3 separate regions of the Homo sapiens genome follow, and regions 2 and 3 are each linked to region 1. Evidence: promoter capture Hi-C in human tissues and cell types (Jung and others, 2019). All regions are on one chromosome and are shown on one strand. Each heading gives the region's core, a stretch centred on a gene start or on the middle of the fragment in contact. The rest is flanking DNA. Distances are from core to core; before and after follow the strand shown.

Evidence for each region. The method cuts DNA at HindIII sites, captures the fragments that hold promoters and counts their contacts. A contact is called where the count stands out against the background at its distance.
Region 2: a contact is called between a fragment that was not itself captured here and the fragment with the promoter of RP9 in region 1, in 1 of the 25 tissues and cell types used here (lymphoblastoid cells).
Region 3: a fragment that was not itself captured here is called in contact with the fragment with the promoter of RP9 in region 1 in 1 of the 25 tissues and cell types used here (hippocampus).

The regions. Positions count from the first base shown.
Region 1 is chr7:33,107,981-33,110,680 of GRCh38, reverse strand. RP9 (RP9 pre-mRNA splicing factor) reads left to right here and starts at 1,277. Exons shown (of 6, transcript NM_203288.2): 1 at 1,277-1,460. The coding sequence starts at 1,309. RefSeq lists silencers at 902-1,381, 1,392-1,621. The HindIII fragment of the contact is 15,438 bases long and covers 1-2,700 here.
Region 2 is chr7:33,070,892-33,073,591 of GRCh38, reverse strand. The region is part of intron 2 of LOC124901610 (a long non-coding RNA gene); the gene reads right to left. Among named protein-coding and RNA genes, the nearest start is that of NT5C3A, 9.5 kb to the right of the region's middle. The HindIII fragment of the contact is 6,422 bases long and covers 1-2,700 here.
Region 3 is chr7:33,045,932-33,048,631 of GRCh38, reverse strand. All of the region lies in intron 1 of NT5C3A (5'-nucleotidase, cytosolic IIIA), which reads left to right. It also overlaps the pseudogene RN7SL505P. Among named protein-coding and RNA genes, the nearest start is that of NT5C3A, 15 kb to the left of the region's middle. The HindIII fragment of the contact is 3,512 bases long and covers 1-2,700 here.

The DNA.
Region 1 (2,700 bases), core at 28-2,527:
ATAAAAAACTTTAAAAAGTTAAAAAGAATTTTGGAAAGAGCAGTATCACATAGAAAATTAATGAGACTGTATCATCGAGGAGAGCCATGTCCTAAAAGAAAAAAAAAAAAGCTATTCATCATGATGCAAGACTTCAAAATATGTTAATCATCATAAAAGTTGGGCAGTTCATGTGGACAATCGCCATGCAATTGCCCATAATCTATCCCTGCAATACACTTTTTCTATGTTGAATTTTCTTTTTAGTTTGCTTTCGTTTTTCTATTTTCTCTTTTAGCTTTTTCATTATTGTAAATTGTCAGCATTATGTTTTACAATTCACTATGCTATGTATTACATCTTAACATCATTTCTAATACTGGAGGCATCAACTATATAAAGACTTTTAGAGAGTTCAAATTTGTTTTATGCATTTTTTGCAAATATGACTCAATCAAAGCTCATTATTACAATGGTGACTGTGTAAGCATTCTACATATATGCAAAAATGTAGAAATTTCCTCGATAAATAAATAAGTGTCTTTTCTGTACATCTGCATTTGTGAAAGATGAAATTTCTCAGGATCTTGGCTCCTCGGGTGACTGGCACAGTGGTGACGTCATGGTGACCCATCCTGTCAAAAGAGTTAGGTTGTCTCTCATGGTATATCAGATGACCGCAGTTATAAAGCTGGGTGCACACTATTACCGAACATAATTATATGTTTATACATTTCACTTTTTGAACACTTTTTTTTTTTTTTTTCTGAGAGACAATCTCGCTTTTTCGCCCAGACTGGAGTGCAGGGGCACCATCTCGGCTCACTGCAACCTCTGCCTCCTGGGTTCAAGCAATTCTCCTGCCTCAGCCACCCAAGTAGCTGGGACTACTGGCGCCCGCCACCACGCCTGGCTAATTTGAACATTTTTTTATGAATACATTTCATCTGCTCATCCCTATGTGACTGTTGCTAGTATACCTGAGGTGGGTGTGGCCGGGCGGGAACCTCCAGGCTCCCAACTAGCGCCTCGCCCCGCTTCGGCTCCAGCTAGGCGGCGCTCCCCACCCACCCGCAGCAGCCCGCCTGGCGGCTGGGCCCGAGACCCGGAGCCCCTGACTTGGGGCCCGACGCGGGGAGGCGGGGATCGGGTGGCCGAGGCTGAGACTTCGGGGCCGCCGGGGTGAGTTGCGGGGCGGCGGCGGGAGGGGGCGCTGCGAAGCCCCGCGACCGCCGCGCGGAGGAAGTGCTCTCTTGGCTGCCGCCGCCGCCGCCGCCGCCGCCGGAGCCGCGCCGCGGGGGTTGCCCGAGCGGCGCTGCGGGGGCTGACATGTCGTCCCGGCCTGGGCGCGAGGACGTGGGGGCTGCGGGCGCGCGGCGGCCGCGTGAGCCGCCGGAGCAGGAGCTGCAGCGACGTCGGGAGCAGAAGCGGCGGCGACACGACGCGCAGCAGCTGCAGCAGCTCAAGCACCTGGAGTCCTTGTGAGTCCCGAGCTGCCGTCCGCGCGCGGCCAGTCTTCTGAAGCCAGGGGCCCGGGGCGCGGGACGCCGCGGTGGGCGCTAGGCCGGGTCCTCCGAGCCCCCGCGAGCAGGCAGGGGGGCTGGGCCCGGCAGGAGCCTGGTGCGGGCGACCGATGTCGGGCGCCGCGGTCAAGGACTTGAAGTCCATCCTCCTGGCGGGGCGTTCAGGGAGCCAACTGCCGCTCGGCACCAAGCAGAATCTGACTTGGGAGGCCCTGCGCTTCCCTAGCTCCAGGGGGTTCCAGGAGAGTCCAAATGACCCGGGAGAGTGTGGTGTAAAGAAGATTCAAATGTAGGGGAAGGAAATATGGTTTCCCTCTACCCTTCTAAGTTCTTAAGCTGGGCCACAAATTAAATTGTCATAAGACAGATTAACAGGAGAAAAACTTTTAATTATGTACCCGTGCACTAGAGGGCCACAAAAGTGGGAGACAAAGAAGGGCCAGGGAATAGGGGCGTGGGCCTTTTGGGGCGTGGTGGAGACCTTTTGGAAGGGTGATGGGGGAAATGTATGGTGAATAAAGGTTGCTTTGTTATCCCGATGAGGCGCTCAGGCGATAAAAGTTGCCCCCAAGCAGCTGTCTTCCTGATACAGATACATTTACTACAGAAAATTTCCTTTATAGGTGTAAATTTCTGTTTACAACAGGCGAGTCGAAAAATAATAAGAACAAAAGGAAAAAAAGCAGTCATACTTTATTTTAGGCAGTTGAGGGGTAGCTGAATAAGTTATCCTGTGTTGTTTGGTTCTGTTACTTATAGCTCAAAGTCATCAATATGCCAGGGTGGCATGTTTGGGGATGGTGCATTCTTGTCTTTTGCAGTCATTTATCAGGGTGGCGTTTCCTAAATTCTAACACAGACCTCGAGTGGAAAGTTCAGGCAGCAACTCTTTCAGTTCTTGTCCGTGATTCTATAATTAGCTGCATAAAACAACCTTTTCTAAGTGTGGCATTCACTCAGTTATTCAAGAATTCGTTTCTGTTTTAGCCACTTCTAGTTACCTGTGCTAAGTAGGTGTTAAGTATAGCCTAACGCTGCCTCCTTGAATATTTTAAGTTTAGCCTAAAAGTTTCTCTGTACTTAGTGAACTGTAACCTAAGTAGATGTGTAAACAGACTGTAACCTACTGTTATAAGTACCTGAGTCTCAGACAATCACAGCAGCTGATTTTCAGGCCGTCACAGGTGGTCAGCCTTTG
Region 2 (2,700 bases), core at 103-2,602, 37 kb after region 1:
CCTTACGCATTCTGGCCCCAAAACACGGGGACAACATAGACGTATCAGCTATTACTGCCAACAACTAGCTTCTGTAGCATGTGGATTACCCCCTTGTTTAAGAGCCATCTCAGCCATAGTTGCACTTCTCAAGGCTACTCAGGAAATTGTAATGAAAGTTCCACTACGTATGTACCTCCTTCTGCTGAAGCTCTTCTAAATTTGCATTGCACTTAACCTTTTTCTATTAGCAGGTTGGCTTCTTTTGTTTTGTTGAGACAGGGTCCCACACTGTCACCAGGATAGAGTGCAGTGGCATGATCATAGCTCACTGCAGCCTCAATCTCCTGGGCTCAAGCAATCCTCCCATCTCAGCACCCCTGAGTAGCTGGGATAACAGACATGCCACCACACAACCAGCTAATTTTTTAATTTTTCTGTAGAGTTGGAGGTCTCGCTATGTTGCCCAGGCTGGTCTCAAACTCCTGGGCTCAAGCCATCCTCCCGCCTCAGCCTCCCAAAATGCTGGGATTATAGGAGTAAGCAACCGTGCCTGGCCAGCTGGTGTCTTATGAGATACTTTTACTCTCTCCCTCACATAATACAATCTTCATTATAATGCTCTTAAGCTCACTTCCCTGCTGCCTAAAGTGACTGATGAGATGCCCTGTGATTATATATCACTAACAGTATAGCTCTTGATGGCCAGACAGGATTTGTTAAAACAAAACAAAACAAAACAAAACAAAAAAACACTAGAGAATGCTGATGTTATTTGGTGATAGATCATATCTAAAGGATAAATATTGGAAAATATTGAGCAGGCTATGCTGTTGTGTCTTTTGTGGACATTACAAAAAGTAAGCCTTTCCTTATGGTGATATCACCTCAGCTGGCTGAATTAATAGAGCTCACTAGAACTTGCCAGTTGGCCAAAGATCAGACAGCTAAAATTTACACTGACAGTCACTATGCTTTTGGTGTAGCTCATGACTTCGGAATGTTACAGAAATAACAAGGTCATCTGACTTCCTCTAGACACCCTACAAAACATGGCTCTCACGTCTCTAAACTTATAGAAGCCATTCAATTACAAAAATAAATTTGGCTATAAGATCCCTAGATATTCAAAAACTGAGTCTCTGGAAAGTAAGGGAAGCCATTTTACTGATGTAGCAGCAAAGACAGCTGCCCTATTACCAGTATGAGATGAAATCATAGAAATAGCCATGCTTAAATGGAACCCAATTAAAAGGGAATGTCAGGATGCTCAAGAAAGAGCCTCAGAAAAGGAAAAAGAAATATGATTAGCAGGCTGAGTGTGGTGGCTCATGCCTGTAATCCCAACACTTTGGGAGGCTGAGGCAGGAGGATCACCTGAGCCGAGGAATTTGAGACCAGTCTAGGCAACATGGTGAAACCCTGTCTCTACAAAAAAAAAAATACAAAAATTAGCCAGGCATGTTGGCAGGTACCTGCAGTCCCCAGTTACTCAGGAGGCTGAGGCAGGAGGATTGATTGGGCCCAGGAGGTTGTGGCTGCAGTGAGCCATGATTGTGGCACTGTACTCCAACCTGGTAGACAGAATGATACCATGTCTCAAAAAAAGAAAGAAAAGAATGAAAGAAAAGAGAGAGAGAAAAGAAATATGGTTAACAAAAGGCAAATATTCCCCGCTACCACTTGTAACCTATGGTATGGACTCAATGACAAACCCATTTGCCTATGGGATTTCAATTTCCTATGTTACAACACATCTATGAGCTTATACACTGGAGACCTAAAAAAAAAAAATGATTGCATGAGAAAAACAATACTACTGAAAACCTTCACCCACAATAGCTTATAAGGTTTATGCTAAATAAACATAATCTAGCCCCTCTGTGAGTCACAGAGGCACTTCTCCCTTTCTGCTGGACCCTTTGATATTTGACAAACACATTTCGTTCAATTATCTCCTGTTCAGGGATATAAATTCATGTGGGTTATGATTTGCATGTTCTCCCACTGGGTTGAAACATTCCCAAGCAAAAGAGCCACAATGCAAATTATAAGAAAATGTCTGTAATAGTCCATTCTCAGACTGTTATAAAGAAATACTGAGACTGGGTAATTTATAAAGAAAAGAGGTTTAATTGGCTTTGGGTTCTGCAGGCTGTACAGCAAACATAGAAGCTTCTGCTTCTGGGGAGGCCTCAGGAAACTTACAATCATGGCAGAAGGCAAAGAGGGAGCAGCACTTCACATGGCCAGAGAAGGAGCAGGGGTGGTGTGGGGTCGGGGTGGGGGAGGCAGGGGACATGCTACACACTTTTAAACAACCAGATCTCACAATAACTCACTCACTGTCACAAGAATAGGGGATGGTGCTAGCCTATTCATGAGAACTCTAACCCCATGATCAATCATCTTCCACCAGGCCCCACCTCCAACACTGAGAATTACAATTCAACATGAGATTTGGTGGGAACACAGGTCCAAACCATATTATTGCACCCCGGGCCCCTCCAAATCTCATGTCCTTCTCATGTTGCAAAATAAAATAATTCCTTTTCAAGAGTCTCCCGAAGTTTTAACTTATTCCAGCATTATCTCGAAAGTCCGAAGTCTAGTCTGAGATAAGGCAAGTCCCTTCTATTTATGAGCCTGTAAAATCAAAAACGAGTTAGTTACTTCCAAGATACAATGGGGTACAGGCATTGGGTAAATACTCTCGTTCCA
Region 3 (2,700 bases), core at 189-2,688, 62 kb after region 1:
GAAATTTAATTTGGCTAAAACTATGCAAGAAACATAAGTTACTATAGATAATAAAGCTTTCATATATGTTTTACCCACTTTTGAATCCCCTCTAGTACACTTATAGCAAGCATAGATCGATCATGTGATTCACTATAGATTTCAGAAAACTAACTTATGAGGTCCACATTCATGGGTTTCCAGTCATGTGACCTAACTTTAAAGAAGTCTTAATAATTGGACTCATGAGTACCTGAATTATGATCCAGCTTTTTATAAGGAATTTGTTTATTTTAAACTATTTACCAGGCCGGGCAAGGTGGCTCATACCTGTAATCCCAGCACGTTGGGAGGTGGAGGCAGGAGGATCACCTGAGCCTAAGAGTTAGAGACCAGCCTGGGCAAAATAAGGGGACCTCATCTCTACTAAAAATCAAATACATCAAAAAAAAACCACACACACACACACACACACAAATCAAATGTATCAATACTATAAATGAAGACGCCATTTATGGTATTATCTTACATCCTGTTTTCTTGGACCTGACCTACCTATTGCAACATAAATGTCATTTCCTCTAAAAGTTTATTTAAATACAGAATTTAATCCTATTTAAGTAAGAAATCAAAAGACACACACACACACACACACATACACATATAAAAGCCAGGTGTGGTGGCACATGCCTATAGTTCCAGCTACTTGAGAGGCTGAGGCAGGAGGATCACTTGACCCCAGAAGGTTGAGGCTGGTAAGCTAAGATCATACCACTGCACTCCAGTCTGGGTGATAGAGTGAGACCCTGTCTCAAATAAATAAATAATTTATCTATTTTATTTTGTATTGATTCTTTTTATATCATACAATACACGTTGATATAAAAGTGAATCTAGATGAGCAAAAGAAATCTATAATTTTCACCACCTTAAAAGACCCCCGTTTTAGTAAGTGTACTTCCTTTATTTTTCTATGTATATAATTAAGTATAATTTTTTTACCCAAATGAAGTCATTCTGTAATGTTTTAAATCAAGATTGTTTACTTAATTTGTTTATAAATTTATACTTATATTTTCATAACTATATTGTATTTATGCTATTATATCACATGGATATCATAACTATTTAAAAATGTATTTAATTGATGCATAGTATTCAACTCAAGTTATCACCCGCCAGTCCTTCATATGATTTCAGATAATTTTGCTACTAGTTACTATTAATTCATGAATTTAAATCTCAAAATAATTTTGTTTATTGTTCTCTTGCCTTAGTATTTACTTAATGTGTTTATGTGGCACAGTAAGAAGGAAGGGTAGTAAGTTAAATCTTAACTTTTTACTCCTCATTTAGATGTACTCGATATAGTGCACCAATAATAAAAGCTTAAATTGCATTACCTTTTTGCCATTTTTAATTTAACTTATAACAAAATAGTGATCTTAAACAATATTGTTTGTTTCTTTTTAAGGGCAGGAATACCAATTGTGAGATGTAGAAGGAGTCCAAAATTAAAACAGAAAGCTTTTCATCTTGTTTCATTTCAATCATAGAGATTCAGCTATAATAAAATAAAAAGATTCGGGAGGCTGAGGTGAGAGGATCGCTTGAGCATAGGAGTTCAAGACCAACCTACTACACCCCATAGCAAGACCCGACTCTTAAAAAAAAAAAAAAAAGAAGCCAGGTGTGGCAGGGTGCACCTGTGGTCCCCACTACTCCAGAGGCTAAGGCAGTAGAATTGTTTGAACCCGGGAAGCAGAGGCTGCAGTGAGCCAAGATTGCACCACTGCACTCCAGCTTGGGCGACAGAATGAGACTCCATCTCCAAAAAAAAAAAAAAAGTCAGTGCTAAGCATCTTGAAATATTCAAACATATGGCATTTGAAAGGAGAGCCAGGAAAGACTCCCTTCATTTATGTTATTGTCTTACATCCTATTTTCTTGAACCTGACCTACCTATTGTAACATCAGTGTCATTTCTGCTAAAAGTTTAAAACAGAATTTAATGCTTTTTAAGTAAGAAAGTAAAAAAGATATAGTTCATGTTCAACAATTTTACTTGAGTTTTTGAAAATTAAATTACTTGATCTAGATTTTTGCAATTTTTTTTTTTTTGAGACAACCTCCCCCTGTCACACAGGCTGAAGTGCAGTGGCATGATTGTACTGCAGCCTCTACCTTCTGGGCTGAAGTGATCCTTCCACCTCAGCCTCCTGAGAAGTTGGGGCTACAGGCACATGCCACCACACTTGGCTAATTTTTTAACATTTTTTGTGGATACAGGGCCTCTGTATGTTGCCCAGGCTGGTCTCAAACTCCTGGGCTCAAGCAATCCTTCTACCTCGACTTCCCAAGGTGCTGGGATTACAGATGTGAGCCTCAGCCCCAGGCCTAGATTTTTGCAAAGTTTAAGAAATACATTGAGATGGGAACCATAGGTTCTCATCAGTTTGCATATACATATGTCTGTAAATTCATAAGGCTGCAATCAGTCTCACTCACAGTCATCTACTAGGATAAGTTTTTGCAGTGATCTTAAATGATAAAAAACATGAGGCTGGGCGTACTGGCCTAGCGCCTATGGTCCCTGGGAGGTTGAGGTGAAAGGATCACTTGAGCCCAGGAGTTCCAAGCTTTAGTGTGCTGTGCCAATCAAGTGTCTGCACTAAGTTCGGCATCAATATAGGAACCTCCTGGGAGCAGGGGACCACCAGG